2 separate regions of the Homo sapiens genome follow, and region 1 is linked to region 2. The links are contacts of gene promoters, found by promoter capture Hi-C in human tissues and cell types (Jung and others, 2019). All regions are on one chromosome and are shown on one strand. The core of a region is centred on a gene start or on the middle of the fragment in contact, and the rest is flanking DNA. Distances in the headings are between cores, read along the strand shown.

What was found. Contacts are between HindIII fragments. The study calls those that stand out against the background at their distance.
Region 1: a fragment that was not itself captured here is called in contact with the fragment with the promoter of SRSF7 in region 2 in 1 of the 25 tissues and cell types used here (hippocampus).

Annotation. Positions count from the first base shown.
Region 1 is chr2:37,891,828-37,897,399 of GRCh38, forward strand. No RefSeq gene overlaps it. Among named protein-coding and RNA genes, the nearest start is that of PIRAT1, 19 kb to the left of the region's middle. The HindIII fragment of the contact is 6,104 bases long and covers 1-5,406 here.
Region 2 is chr2:38,750,110-38,756,331 of GRCh38, forward strand. It overlaps SRSF7 (serine and arginine rich splicing factor 7), which reads right to left and starts at 1,252. Exons shown (of 8, transcript NM_001031684.3): 1 at 1,120-1,252; 2 at 1-85. The coding sequence starts at 1,147. RefSeq lists silencers at 337-526, 737-836 and enhancers at 1,697-1,756, 5,100-5,851. The HindIII fragment of the contact is 20,463 bases long and covers 1-6,222 here.

The sequences.
Region 1 (5,572 bases), core at 1,105-3,604, 860 kb before region 2:
CGCAGCTCAGACGCCGTGTGAATCCTAAATTTAGACCCTGCTATAACATGTGGCTACTGACCTCCAGAAAGGCTCCTCCCCAGAAAGTCATAACCCACCCAAGGGAAGGCAGTGCAGTATAATGATTAAAAATATGAATTTGGAATGATAATTTCATTGGAATCTCTGTTTGCTTATATGTTGGGTGGGCTTGGGCCACTTATTTTTACATCTCTAAACCTCAACTCCCTCATCTGTAAAATGGGCTAATGATATTTAACTCACAGATTGTTGTGATTATCAAATGAGACACTGCATTTTTAAAATGCTTATCACATTTCATAACTAGGAAGCACTTAACAGACACCGTCATTATTCGTTATGAAGTCCAGACTTTGTAGGACTCAAAGGACTCTATCTCAGGGGTGGAATCATCTGGAGCCCTGGCACCATCGGTTGCCCAAGGCTCCTTTCTGAACAGCCAGGTCCCTGGGAATTCTCTAGGGAATGAAGTTGGACTTCATTCAAACTTCATTCTTCTTCTTCGAACTCCACCATGATTCTGGCCTAGAGGCTCTGACCTCCCGCCCAGAGATCACACTGCCTCTCCTCAGTCTCATCCTGTCAATCAAGTCGACTACGGGACCTGCTCAGTCAGGAGCGTGCACTCCACTTTCTCTTCTATTCTCCTGCTGGCTTCCTCTCCTCCACCACCCCTTTCCTCTCACTTACTTTCAGCTGCCAAGAATAAGATACTGTTTTACCCACATCTATCTACTGTCACTCAGTCGGGGACTGGGGCTTCCTGAATCAGCACAACTTTTTCTAATTAGGTTTGCCATAGTTGCATGCTTCAAATGTAGTGGTTGAATTCCTCAAAGAAACTCTTCAGGAGGAAGGAAGGGTGTGGCAGATTATGCCACCCCAAAATATGCCACTTTGGCGTGTTAAAAAAAAAAAAAAAACCACTTCAGCAGAATTAAATTTAAGGGAGTTTAATTGAGCAATGAACAATTCACAAATTGGGCAGCCAACTCAGAGAGACTCCAGGAGTGCCTTGTGGTCAGAACAAATTTATAGACAAAAAAAAAGTAAAGTGACATATAGAAATAGGAAGTGAGAAACAGCCTGACTAGCTACAGCTTGGCGTTTGCCTTATTTGAACACAAGTTGAACACTCAGCAGTGTATGAGTGGTTGAAGTATGGCTGCTGGGATTGGCCAAGACTCAGTGACTGTTACAGGTGCATACTCCTAGTTAGGTTTTCAGTCTCGTCTACCAGTTAAGCTAGGTTGCAGTTCATCCACAAGGACTCAAATATAGAAGTACAGAGTCCTTCTCAGGCCATATTTAGTTTGCTTTAACAGACGTAAGGATTATTCTGAGCTGATGATAATTAAGAAGTGGACAGAAGAAAAACTCTGCTCTCCTTTTTTCTTCCAGGAAGGGCAGGACAGTTCTTGGTCCCCTGAGACAACCGTAGATCCTATATCCCACACACTAGACCAGAGGAACAAACTTGACCAACCAGCCCTTACCGTCCATGAGTTTCCCATTTATCTTCCCACAACTTGCTACCCCATGAAGTCCAGAGTGCTTTTCCTTTCTCTTGTTAATTCTCTACAAAAGTATTGGGTTTTTTTGTTAAGATGTTATATAAGCCCAAGTTCTAACAATCCCTTTGAGTTACTCATCTCTAGGTACCTCCATGTGTATGTGTGACACATGCTAATAAACTTCTGTTTGTGTTTCTCTGGTGAAGGTGCTTTTTTGTTAGTCTAATATACAGGGCCTCAGTGGGAGAACCTAAGATGGCTAGAGGGACAAGATTTGCTTTCCTCCCCTATAAAAGCAACCCAGGGGTGGGTAGGAGGAAGAGGCAGGTAGTGCTCTGTTAGGAAGTTCTCTGTGCACAAGTTCAGCATCCCTAGAAGGCCTCTACTCCTACCCTCAGTCCTGCTTTGTTTATTCAATGCTTTCTTCCTCCTGTCCTCCCAAGTCAAGTATCTGCGTAAGGCTACCTCCTACTTGAAGTTAGCAACCCCTGGGCTGCTGACATGGCCCATTCCTACAAATGATGGCATTGATTAGAATTCACACTCAAAGCAAATTTTGCCTGATTTATTGGAGAAGTTTCCTTAAATCCTCCTTCTGTTCTATGTCCTCTAGGCCATTGAGCCTGGAGTGTCATTGAGAGTACTGTGAGCAATCTTGCCTTGCAGTTAACCACTTAATAAACTCTTTATTCATAAGTAGATGTTGGGGGAAAAGGATAACTTCACAGTAATCACATAAGGACTGGATTATGGCCCCAGCTCCACACTCATTGGCTACGTGATCTTTGTAAGTCATTTTCCCCTCCCTGGGTTCCTCATCTGCCAAATGCGAAAGCTGGGCTGGATGGGTAAGAGCCCTCTTCCAGCTCCGATGTTTCAACATCAGGTTCGCCCGCACACTAGAAACTCAGATTTGCACTGCGCTTCTGAGAAGCTCCAGTCCAGTCATTCAGACAGTCTGATTTATCCCTCGATACCACTTCAAGGGTAGGTTCTTGACTTATCTAAAACTCAGATACCAGAGGATGACTTACTTGAGGTTACAAAGTAAATCACTGTCAGAGGCCAAAACAGCAACTCAGCCTTTCCAACCAGCTTTCCTCCATCAAGACAGCCCAAGGAGAAAACAACCCTCAATGCCACCCCCATACTGGATAACTTTGTATCCATGCAAAACTCCTTTTAACTGACATTTTAACTTTCAAAATTGTGTGTATGTAAACATGTAGCCCATCACCATTCAAAACTCTCCTTTAACTGGTACGAAAGAGCATTTGAAAATTGTAATGAAACTGTATCTGTCAGCTTTTTATTTCCATTTAAAAAATGAAAAACAAGACAAAAAAAAAACAACTAGAAACTGCAGTTTAGATACACAGCCCACACACCGAGCAGGCCCCGATGGCACTGATTCAGTGTGGGGTGGTTAGTAATTGGCAGCTCTTCATTTTAGAAGCTGCATGTGTTATACACAAAGCTCGCTGGTACAGGAATCAACACTGGCTCAGCCCCTAGTATCAAATCCTCAAAGGCCACTCAGACTCCCAGAAGGGAAAAACCCTGAAAGCCAACATTTTTTCCCAAGGCAACACTATATTATCTTTGACATTCTGTTCCCTTGTCTAAGAAAAGAGAATCCAATTCTTCCTGCTTTCCCAGAGCAGTATTTGAACTGTTAGAAGCAATACTTGTTTCTTATTTTCTTCTATCAAGATCACAACTTTCACGCAACTTTGTCAAAGTAAATTAGGGATTTTGCAAGAGCCAGTGGGCAGGTAGTTTCTTGTTAGATATTTATGCCTAACTGTGTCACCATTATTTTTACAAATAGGCTTGTCCATCTCAGATGGTTCTCAGTAGTCGCCTAGGTAGAAAAGCAAGCAAGAGCTCCTGAAACCCTCCAGGATGGAGTTGGGAGCTAGGGAAGCAGAAGTGCTAAGAGGGCCAGAGACCAGAGAAAGCTTGTGGTTGGGCCAAAAAAGGAACAAAATGCTAGACCTTGAAACTAAAGGCCGTGGAAATGACCACAGACATCTGTAGCAAAAGCCAGAGCATGAACCCAAAGACAGAGGCGAAGGTGAGGGCTGGAAGCCAGAAACAAACTCCTATCATGGGAAGTAAATGGGAACAGAGCATGGCCACATGGTGGATGAGCCTCCCCAAGAGCTTAAGAGCTTAGCACACCCCCAGGAACAGCAGAGAAAGTGAGCAGGCAGGGGAAGAGTCCCAGATTTGACTGAGCCCTTACCCAACAGAGATTTTAAAATCTGCAAGTAGGCCGGGTGTGGTGGCTAATGCCTGTAATCCCAGCACTTTGGGAGGCAGAGGCAGGTGGATCATTTGAGGCCAAGAGTTCAAGACCAGCCTGGCCAAAATCATGAAACCCTATCTCTACTAGAATTACAAAAATTAGCTGGGCATGGTAGTGTGTGACTGTAGTCCCAGCTATGGGGAGGCTAAGGCACAAGAATCCCTGGAACCCACGAGGCGGAGGCTGCAGTGAGCCAAAATGGCGCCACTGCACTCCAGCCTCGGTGACAGAGCAAGACTCTGCCTCAAAAAAAAAAAAAAAAAAAAAAAAAAAAAGAAAAAAAACTGCAAGTAACTGAGTTACTTTGAATTGGCCATTTTAACTTCCTCCTCTGTATTGCTGGCCAGAATTAAGGGTTCCATCACTAAATACAGTTATGGATGAATAGAGAAAGTGACATTTCTGCATAGTTTAATTTTTTGACTGTGAAAGGCTTACCTGCTATACTAGCCACGTTTTGTTTTATTGAAAGATGTTAGTAAATGTCTATAAAATATTTATTGCCCCCCACCAACAAAGCTAAGGCAGTTGTCAGCATCTCTTACAGCAAATCTAATCCAGAAGCATACTAGAATAATTTAGCTTTGACAAAACGAGGGATTTTTTTTCTTAGGATCCTGAGAGACCAGAATACACCACCCAGAAACATGCCTCTTTGGCCTCCAGATTGTTTTGTGCTGAAGGCAATTACAAAGAAGCAGATGCAAGAAAGCTCTCTGCCCTCCATCTATTTGCCTAAAAGCAGGACATAGATTTAGAAAGATAGATGTAGCCTGCCCCACCCTCTCTACCAGGGAGGACAAGAGTTAACCGCTGAAGACAACTTTGAACCGTTACTGGCCTGGAGATGGCACCACAGGAAGGTGCATTAACAAGCCTTACTAAGTTGCCTTTCTCTGCCATTTATTCGCTTTCTCCCAATTTGCTGCCCCTAGAGACTCACAGTCCTTTTTTTTTTTTTTTCTTGTCACTTCTTTAAAATTTTATTTTTCTTTGTGGAAGGTGCCATGTAAGCTGAAATTCAGAGCCACCTCTTTGAGATTACTCATTCCCTAGGCATCTCCCATATACAGGTGAAACATACATGTTAATATACTTCTGTTTTTCTCTTATTTATCTGTCTTTTGTCATAGGAGTTTGTTCTAACTAAGAACTTACAAAAATTGAGGAAAAAATTATTTTTCTTCCTCTACAGCAGCAGTCCCCAACCTTTTTGGCACCAGGGATCAGTTTCATGGAAGGCAATTTTTCTACTACCAGGGATGGGGGAATGGTTTCAGGATGAAATTGTTCCACCTCAGATCATCAAGGATTAGATTGTGGTAAGGAGCACGCAACCTAGATCCCTCAAATGCACAGTTCACAATGCACAGTTCACAGGGTTCGTGCTTCTAAGAGAATTGAATGCCACTGCTGATCTGAAAGGAGGCAGAGCTTACGAGGTAATAGATCACTAGCTGTGGCCCCATTTCTAATAGTCCATGGACCACTACTGGGTCCGTGGCCCAAGGGTTGGGGAGCCCTGCTCTACAATAGAGCATATAGTAGAATGGACCAATATTCCTAATATGTAATGCTCTAGTCAGAGGTCAGACATTCTCACATTTAAGTCAAACATGTACATGTTTTAAAGAAAAATAAACAGAATCCTTATGTTGACTTATTTCTATTATGTTTCTTAAACATAAACTTGGTATAAAATTCTTATGTTTAATGTCCCTTTATA
Region 2 (6,222 bases), core at 2-2,501:
CTTAAAGGACCATAATAACTGAAAGCCCTTTCTAACTCTCCTTTGCCAGCGCCAGTTCCCAGGTTACCAACATACACCTTGGTTTCTGTTTAAAAACGCAAATAGAAGAATGCACGTTACGCAAAATCTGGCCCAAGTTTCAATTACTTATTTGCCTTAAAACGGGCCATCCTCAAGATTGGGTAAAGCACATTTAATGCCCTCTATCCAAGACAAAACTTAGTCGTAAAACTGGTGAAAGTCCGCAAATCCCTGAGAAACTAGACTTTTGACAAAATTCTTAACGTTCTAAATAATGCGGGGTGACCCTCCCGAACACAAGCAGAAACGCGTGGTAGGATACACCGAGGCGTGGGGCGGAACCTGGCCCGGCCCCACCCATGAGTCCCGGCAGCCCCGGGCGCACCGGGAGCGCGCGGGCCCGCAGCGGCAGCGGCGTCGGCGGCGGGAGGGCCTCGGTAGGGGCCGGGCCAGGAGAGCAGGGCTGCGCCGGCTCTCGTCCTCCGCGGCAAACGTCCCAGGCACAGGCTCGCCCAAGACTCCAGCTCCCCGCCCCAGAGCCATAAACCGCGCTGGAAATAACTAAAAAAAACCCAGCCGCCAGTCGCAGATTACGTCCCCATTCCCATTCCGCAATTTAACCGATTGTTTGACGAGAACATGCAGCTCACAGCTGCCAATTTCGTTCTATCTCAAACACAACCACGATCTTACAGCTGCGGCCAGATCTGTCCGCTGAAGTGGCGGGAAAGCGCTGAGGAAATGCGCCACCACGGTCCTCAATGTGCGCAAAATGGCAGCCGCCGCCGAGGGCGGGGGGGGAGGGGGGCCGGCGGGCAGCTCCGAGAAAGGCAACGCGAAAACCGTCATCTCAACCCTGCTTTAGGCTGGATTGGGCCACAAAAATGCCCAAGAGTACGGAACTCGGCAGAGATGTACACCCGCCATCCCGTCTCCCTTCAGCACCCCGCCTCCGCTGCCTCCGGCTTCGTCTGGCGTGCTCCTAAGCCGCCATTACGCACGCGGAATAACCGTCTCCCAACCTCCGCGACAACCCTACGGCCTCGCAGTGCTCACTACACCCACACCAACGTCCCTCACCGGACTCCAGCTTCTTACCTCCTCCGTACCGCCCGTAACGCGACATGATGACAGACCCGCGTGCTCGGCTCTTTAGCAAGCAGCGCCCAGGGCTCGAGTGACGCAAAAGCTGACACACACCTTCACCCGCCAAGAGTCCCGGCGGCACTACGAGGAAGAGCCCGGGTTCGCGTTTATATATGCGGCCGCTGCGCTTTGCGCATGCGTCATCTCGTTGTTCTGCGCGGCACAAAGGAGCTGGGCGGAAACAGCCAAGAAACGACGCGGAAGGAACTGAAGAGACTAACACGCGGGTCATGGGCGGAGGGATACGTTTCTATGGGAACGCCACGATCTCTCCAGTAAACCTGAGGCCTTCCCCATGCTGTCCCGCCCCCTCCTCTCCCCGTTTTCTACACCCTCCTTGTCTTCTTTCCCGTCTCCCTACCCTCTGCCTCCTTTCGTTTTTCCCCAGGCTAGGGACCCTCAGCCTTAACAATCTTAGTACGGATGCATTAGACCGGCCTATGAAAGGCTGTACAATTTAACCGCTGATGTTGCAGCCGTCGCGCCCTTCTGCTGGGGGACCTGGCCTAGTCAGCTACTCTGATCTTTGGGGCTCATCAGAGGTAATCGAAGGTTTGGCCATGGTGAAAAGTCCATGAACCCCGCCATTCTGAGTAGTGGTTTTTACACCATAGACCTTGACGCACCCTGGGACTGGTGGTAAAGCCTCCTGTCCTACACGCCCCCTCCAACTTCTTTTGAACCAGTCACCAGTTTGCACCACCACGGTCTGAGTTCTTGGAGTCTGAAAGACAAAGGAATAGAGCTGTGGGGTCCCGCTCCCCCCTCCCCCCTTTATATTGAAATTGTGACAAAACCCTGAATGTTTAAAGCATTTTGGCCAGTGACAATTTGGAAATTATTTGCATCTGAAGCTCAAAGTAACTGATTTGCTTTTCCTAATGCTTTCTGCTTTGTAACACGTGTGATCCACCAATACTCCGATCCTGAGGACTGGGACTCCTAAGTCATCTTTGTGTATCTCCACTCAGTGGAAATAGCAGCCTTGCTGCTCAGCCACTCAACAGTACCAAATAAATGCAAAACTTCTTTACATTAGAATTGCTCTAGACACCAACTACAAATAGAGAAAAAGTTCTTTTTTGCTAGAAACATAGACATTACATCGTAAATTCTTGGAATACACAAAAGTTGGAAATGTACATAAAAAAAGACATTTAGGTATTTGCATTTTTATCTTTTTCGTCTTTTGCAACTTCATTTGGTGAGTATAGGTGTGGAATGGAGAGTACAGGGAAAGCAGGCCTAGTTGGTGAATAAAGCATGGATTCTTTCCAGGTCATGCTATGATTTTATGCATATTTTTTACGTTGATTAAGTTATGGAGAGAATTAATCTCTCTCAGGAAGATCTCTAAGAAGAAAATAGAAGCTCTGTAGAGTATATGTGTTCTCCCTTAGTCTTGGTGATTTTTTTCTTAACAAGGTTCTTCTCAAAAGAAACAATAATTATAAAGATCTATAGGTTCTTCTCAAAAGAATTAAACAATAATTATAAAGACTATATAGGGGCCAGGCGCAGTGGCTCACGCCTGTAATGCCAGCACTTTGGGAGGCCGAGGCGGGCGGATTGCCTGAGCTCAGGAGTTTGAGACCAGCCTGGGCAACACAGTAAAACCCTGTCCCTACTAAAATACAAAAAATTAGCCTGGCGTGGTGGCGTGTGCCTGTAGTCCCAGCTACTCCGGAGGCTGAGGCAGGAGAACTGCTTGAACCCAGGAGGCGGAGGTTGCAGTGAGCTGAGATCGTGCCACTGCACTCCAGCCTGGGCGACAGAGCAAGACTCCATCTCAAAAAAAAAGATTATATGGTATCTGAAAGATAAAATATAAATTCTGTAAAGCCTCACTAAGTTGACTTTCTTCTGTTAAGAAGCTATGAAAATTACTGTTGAGGCCGCGCGCAGTGGCTCATGCCTGTAATCCCAGCACTTTGGGAGGCTGAAGCTGGCGGATCACCTGAGGTCAGGAGTTCGAGACCAGCCTGACCAACATGGAGGAACCCCGTCTCTACTAAAAATACAAAATTAGCTGGGCGTGGTGGCGCATGCCTGTAATCCCAGCTACTCGGGAGGCTGAGGCAGGAGAATCGCTTGAACCTGAGAGGTGGAGGTTGTGGTGAGCTGAGATCTTGCCATTGCACTACAGCCTGAGCAACAAGAGCAAAACTCCTAGGCCGGGCGCTGTGACTCACATCTGTAATCCCAGCACTCTGGGAGGCCGAGGCGGGCGGATCACCTAAGGTCAGAAGTTCAAGACCAGCCTGGCCATGGTGAAACCCCCGTCTCTACTAAAAATACAAAAAATTAGCCAGGCGTGGTGGTGCGCACCTGTAATCCCAGCTACTTGGGAGGCTGAGGCAGGAGAATTGCTTGAACCCGGGAGGTGGAGGTTGCAGGGAGCCGAGATTGCGCCATTGCACTCCAGCCTGGGCAACAAGAGTGAAACTCCATCTCCAAAACAAAAGAGCAAAACTCCGACTCAAAAAAAAAGAAAATTACTGTTGAGCCAAGCATAGATAACTGCTTGAAAGACAGTGCATGTTATACTGTATAATTCCTAATAAACCTCAATAAACTTTTTTTTTTCCAATAAACTTTTTTTGACTCTGAATACAAAGTCTAAGTCAGGTTTTGTGGCTCATGCCGGTAATCTCTGCACTTTGGGAGGTTGAGGTGGGAGGATATCTTGAGGCCAGGACTTTGAGACCAGCCTGGGCAACAGAACCAGACCCCCATCTCTACCAACAAAACAAAACAAAGTCTATAGTTGTACTAAAGAAATTTCTAAGCAAGTAATAGTAAACAGAAGCAGTTTTAAAATTTATAACCAATTGCTTTCAAATCCTGATTCACAGACATGCTTGTCTTGCAGACAGGTGTTCAATAAGCTAATTACATACTGTTTATTCCTATGAAAGCAGGGCCAGTACAAGGCCAGGCTTTGTTAATCTGGTTACCATGAAAAAATAATAGTACTGTATACTATTTCCATAGACTATTCTACTTTCTACTGAACACTCTTTCTCTAAGAACAGGCAACCAATTCTTTTCACTAAATGTCAGTCCAAATCAGGGAGATTTTACTGTGCAGAGAACTTTTATTCCTGCTGATTCTTGTTGAAATCACATTCACCCACATAAGTTTCTGCCTCTAGAAATCTGTTAAATTTAGATTACATTCTCAGATTGTTTGAATATGAAAACTACTTTCTTCAAATATTGTAATATTTCCTAATATGAAATATTAGTTATTAACATGTTACTATTGTTAAATTTTAAAAATATTATTAGTTTAGGAAAGGGGAGTAATTCATAAGCCTTTTACAGCAGTTTTCAAAATGTATCTGCATTTTCTACATTTGGTATTTCCAGATAAATATTAAAGAAAAAGTTCCCTTTTTAATCGTACTTCTCTCACCATTTCAGTTTCACTTTTAAGTCATTATCACCATTTGAGCTTGGATGTGAAAACGTTAAAACAAGAAAGGAAAAAAAATTTAAATGTTTTGCACATTAGTCTATTTTGTTTGTTTTTTTGTTTTTAAGGCAGGGCAAGAAGTGGGCAGACCTCAGACTCCGCCTCCTGGACCCCAACTTCCCCCTCTGCCACACCAATATTCTATTTTTAATATAAATAAGTAGTCTATGCTAAAAAATACTAGTCTTTTTTTTTTTTTAATTTTATTTTTTGAGACAGAGTCTTGCTCTGTCGCCCAGGCTGGAGTGCAGTGGCACGATCTTGGCTCACTACAACCTCTGCCTCCCAGGTTCAAGTGATTCTTGTGCCCCAGCCTCCAAAGTATTATAGGCATGAGCCACCATGCCCAGCTAATCTTTGTAATATTAGTAGAGACGGGGTCTCGCCATCTTGGCCAGGCCGGTCTCGAACTCCCGACCTAAAGTGATCCACCCAACTTGGCATCCCAAAGTGCTGGGATTACAGGTGTGAGCCACCATGCCTGGCCTATAGTCTATTCTTTTTTTTTTTTTTTTTTAATTGATCATTCTTGGGTGTTTCTCACAGAGGGGCATTTGGCAGGGTCATAGGACAATAGTGGAGGGAAGGTCAGCAGATAAACAAGTGAACAAAGGTCTCTGGTTTTCCTAGGCAGAGGACCCTGCGGCCCTCCGCAGTGTTTGTGTCCCTGGGTACTTGAGATTAGGGAGTGGTGATGACTCTTAACGAGCATGCTGCCTTCAAGCATCTGTTTAACAAAGCACATCTTGCACCGCCCTTAATCCATTTAACCCTGAGTGGACACAGCACATGTTTCAGAGAGCACAGGGTTGGGGGTAAGGTCATAGATCAACAGGATCCCAAGGCAGAAGAATTTTTCTTAGTACAGAACAAAATGAAAAGTCTCCCATGTCTACTTCTTTCTACACAGACACAGCAACCATCCGATTTCTCAATCTTTTCCCTACCTTTCCCCCTTTTCTATTCCACAAAACCGCCATTGTCATCATGGCCCGTTCTCAATGAGCTGTTGGGTACACCTCCCAGACGGGGTGGTGGCCGGGCAGAGGGGCTCCTCACTTCCCAGTAGGGGCGGCCAGGCAGAGGCGCCCCTCACCTCCCGGACGGGGCGGCTGGCCGGGCGGGGGGCTGACCCCCCCCACCTCCCTCCTGGACGGGGCGGCTGGCCGGGCGGGGGCTGACCCCCTACCTCCCTCCCGGATGGGGCGGCTGGCCTGGCGGGGGCTGACCCCCACCTCCTTCCCGGACGGGGTGGCTGCCGGGCGGAGACGCTCCTCACTTCCCAGACGGGGCGGCTGCCGGGCGGAGGGGCTCCTCACTTCTCAGACGGGGCGGCCGGGCAGCGACGCTCCTCACCTCCCAGAAGGGGCAGCGGGACAGAGGCGCTCCCCACATCTCAGACGATGGGCGGCCGGGCAGAGACGCTCCTCACTTCCTAGATGGGATGGCGGCCGGGCAGAGACGCTCCTCACTTTCCAGACTGGGCAGCCAGGCAGAGGGGCTCCTCACATCCCAGACGATGGGCACCCAGGCAGAAACGCTCCTCACTTCCCAGACGGGGTGGCGGCCGGGCAGAG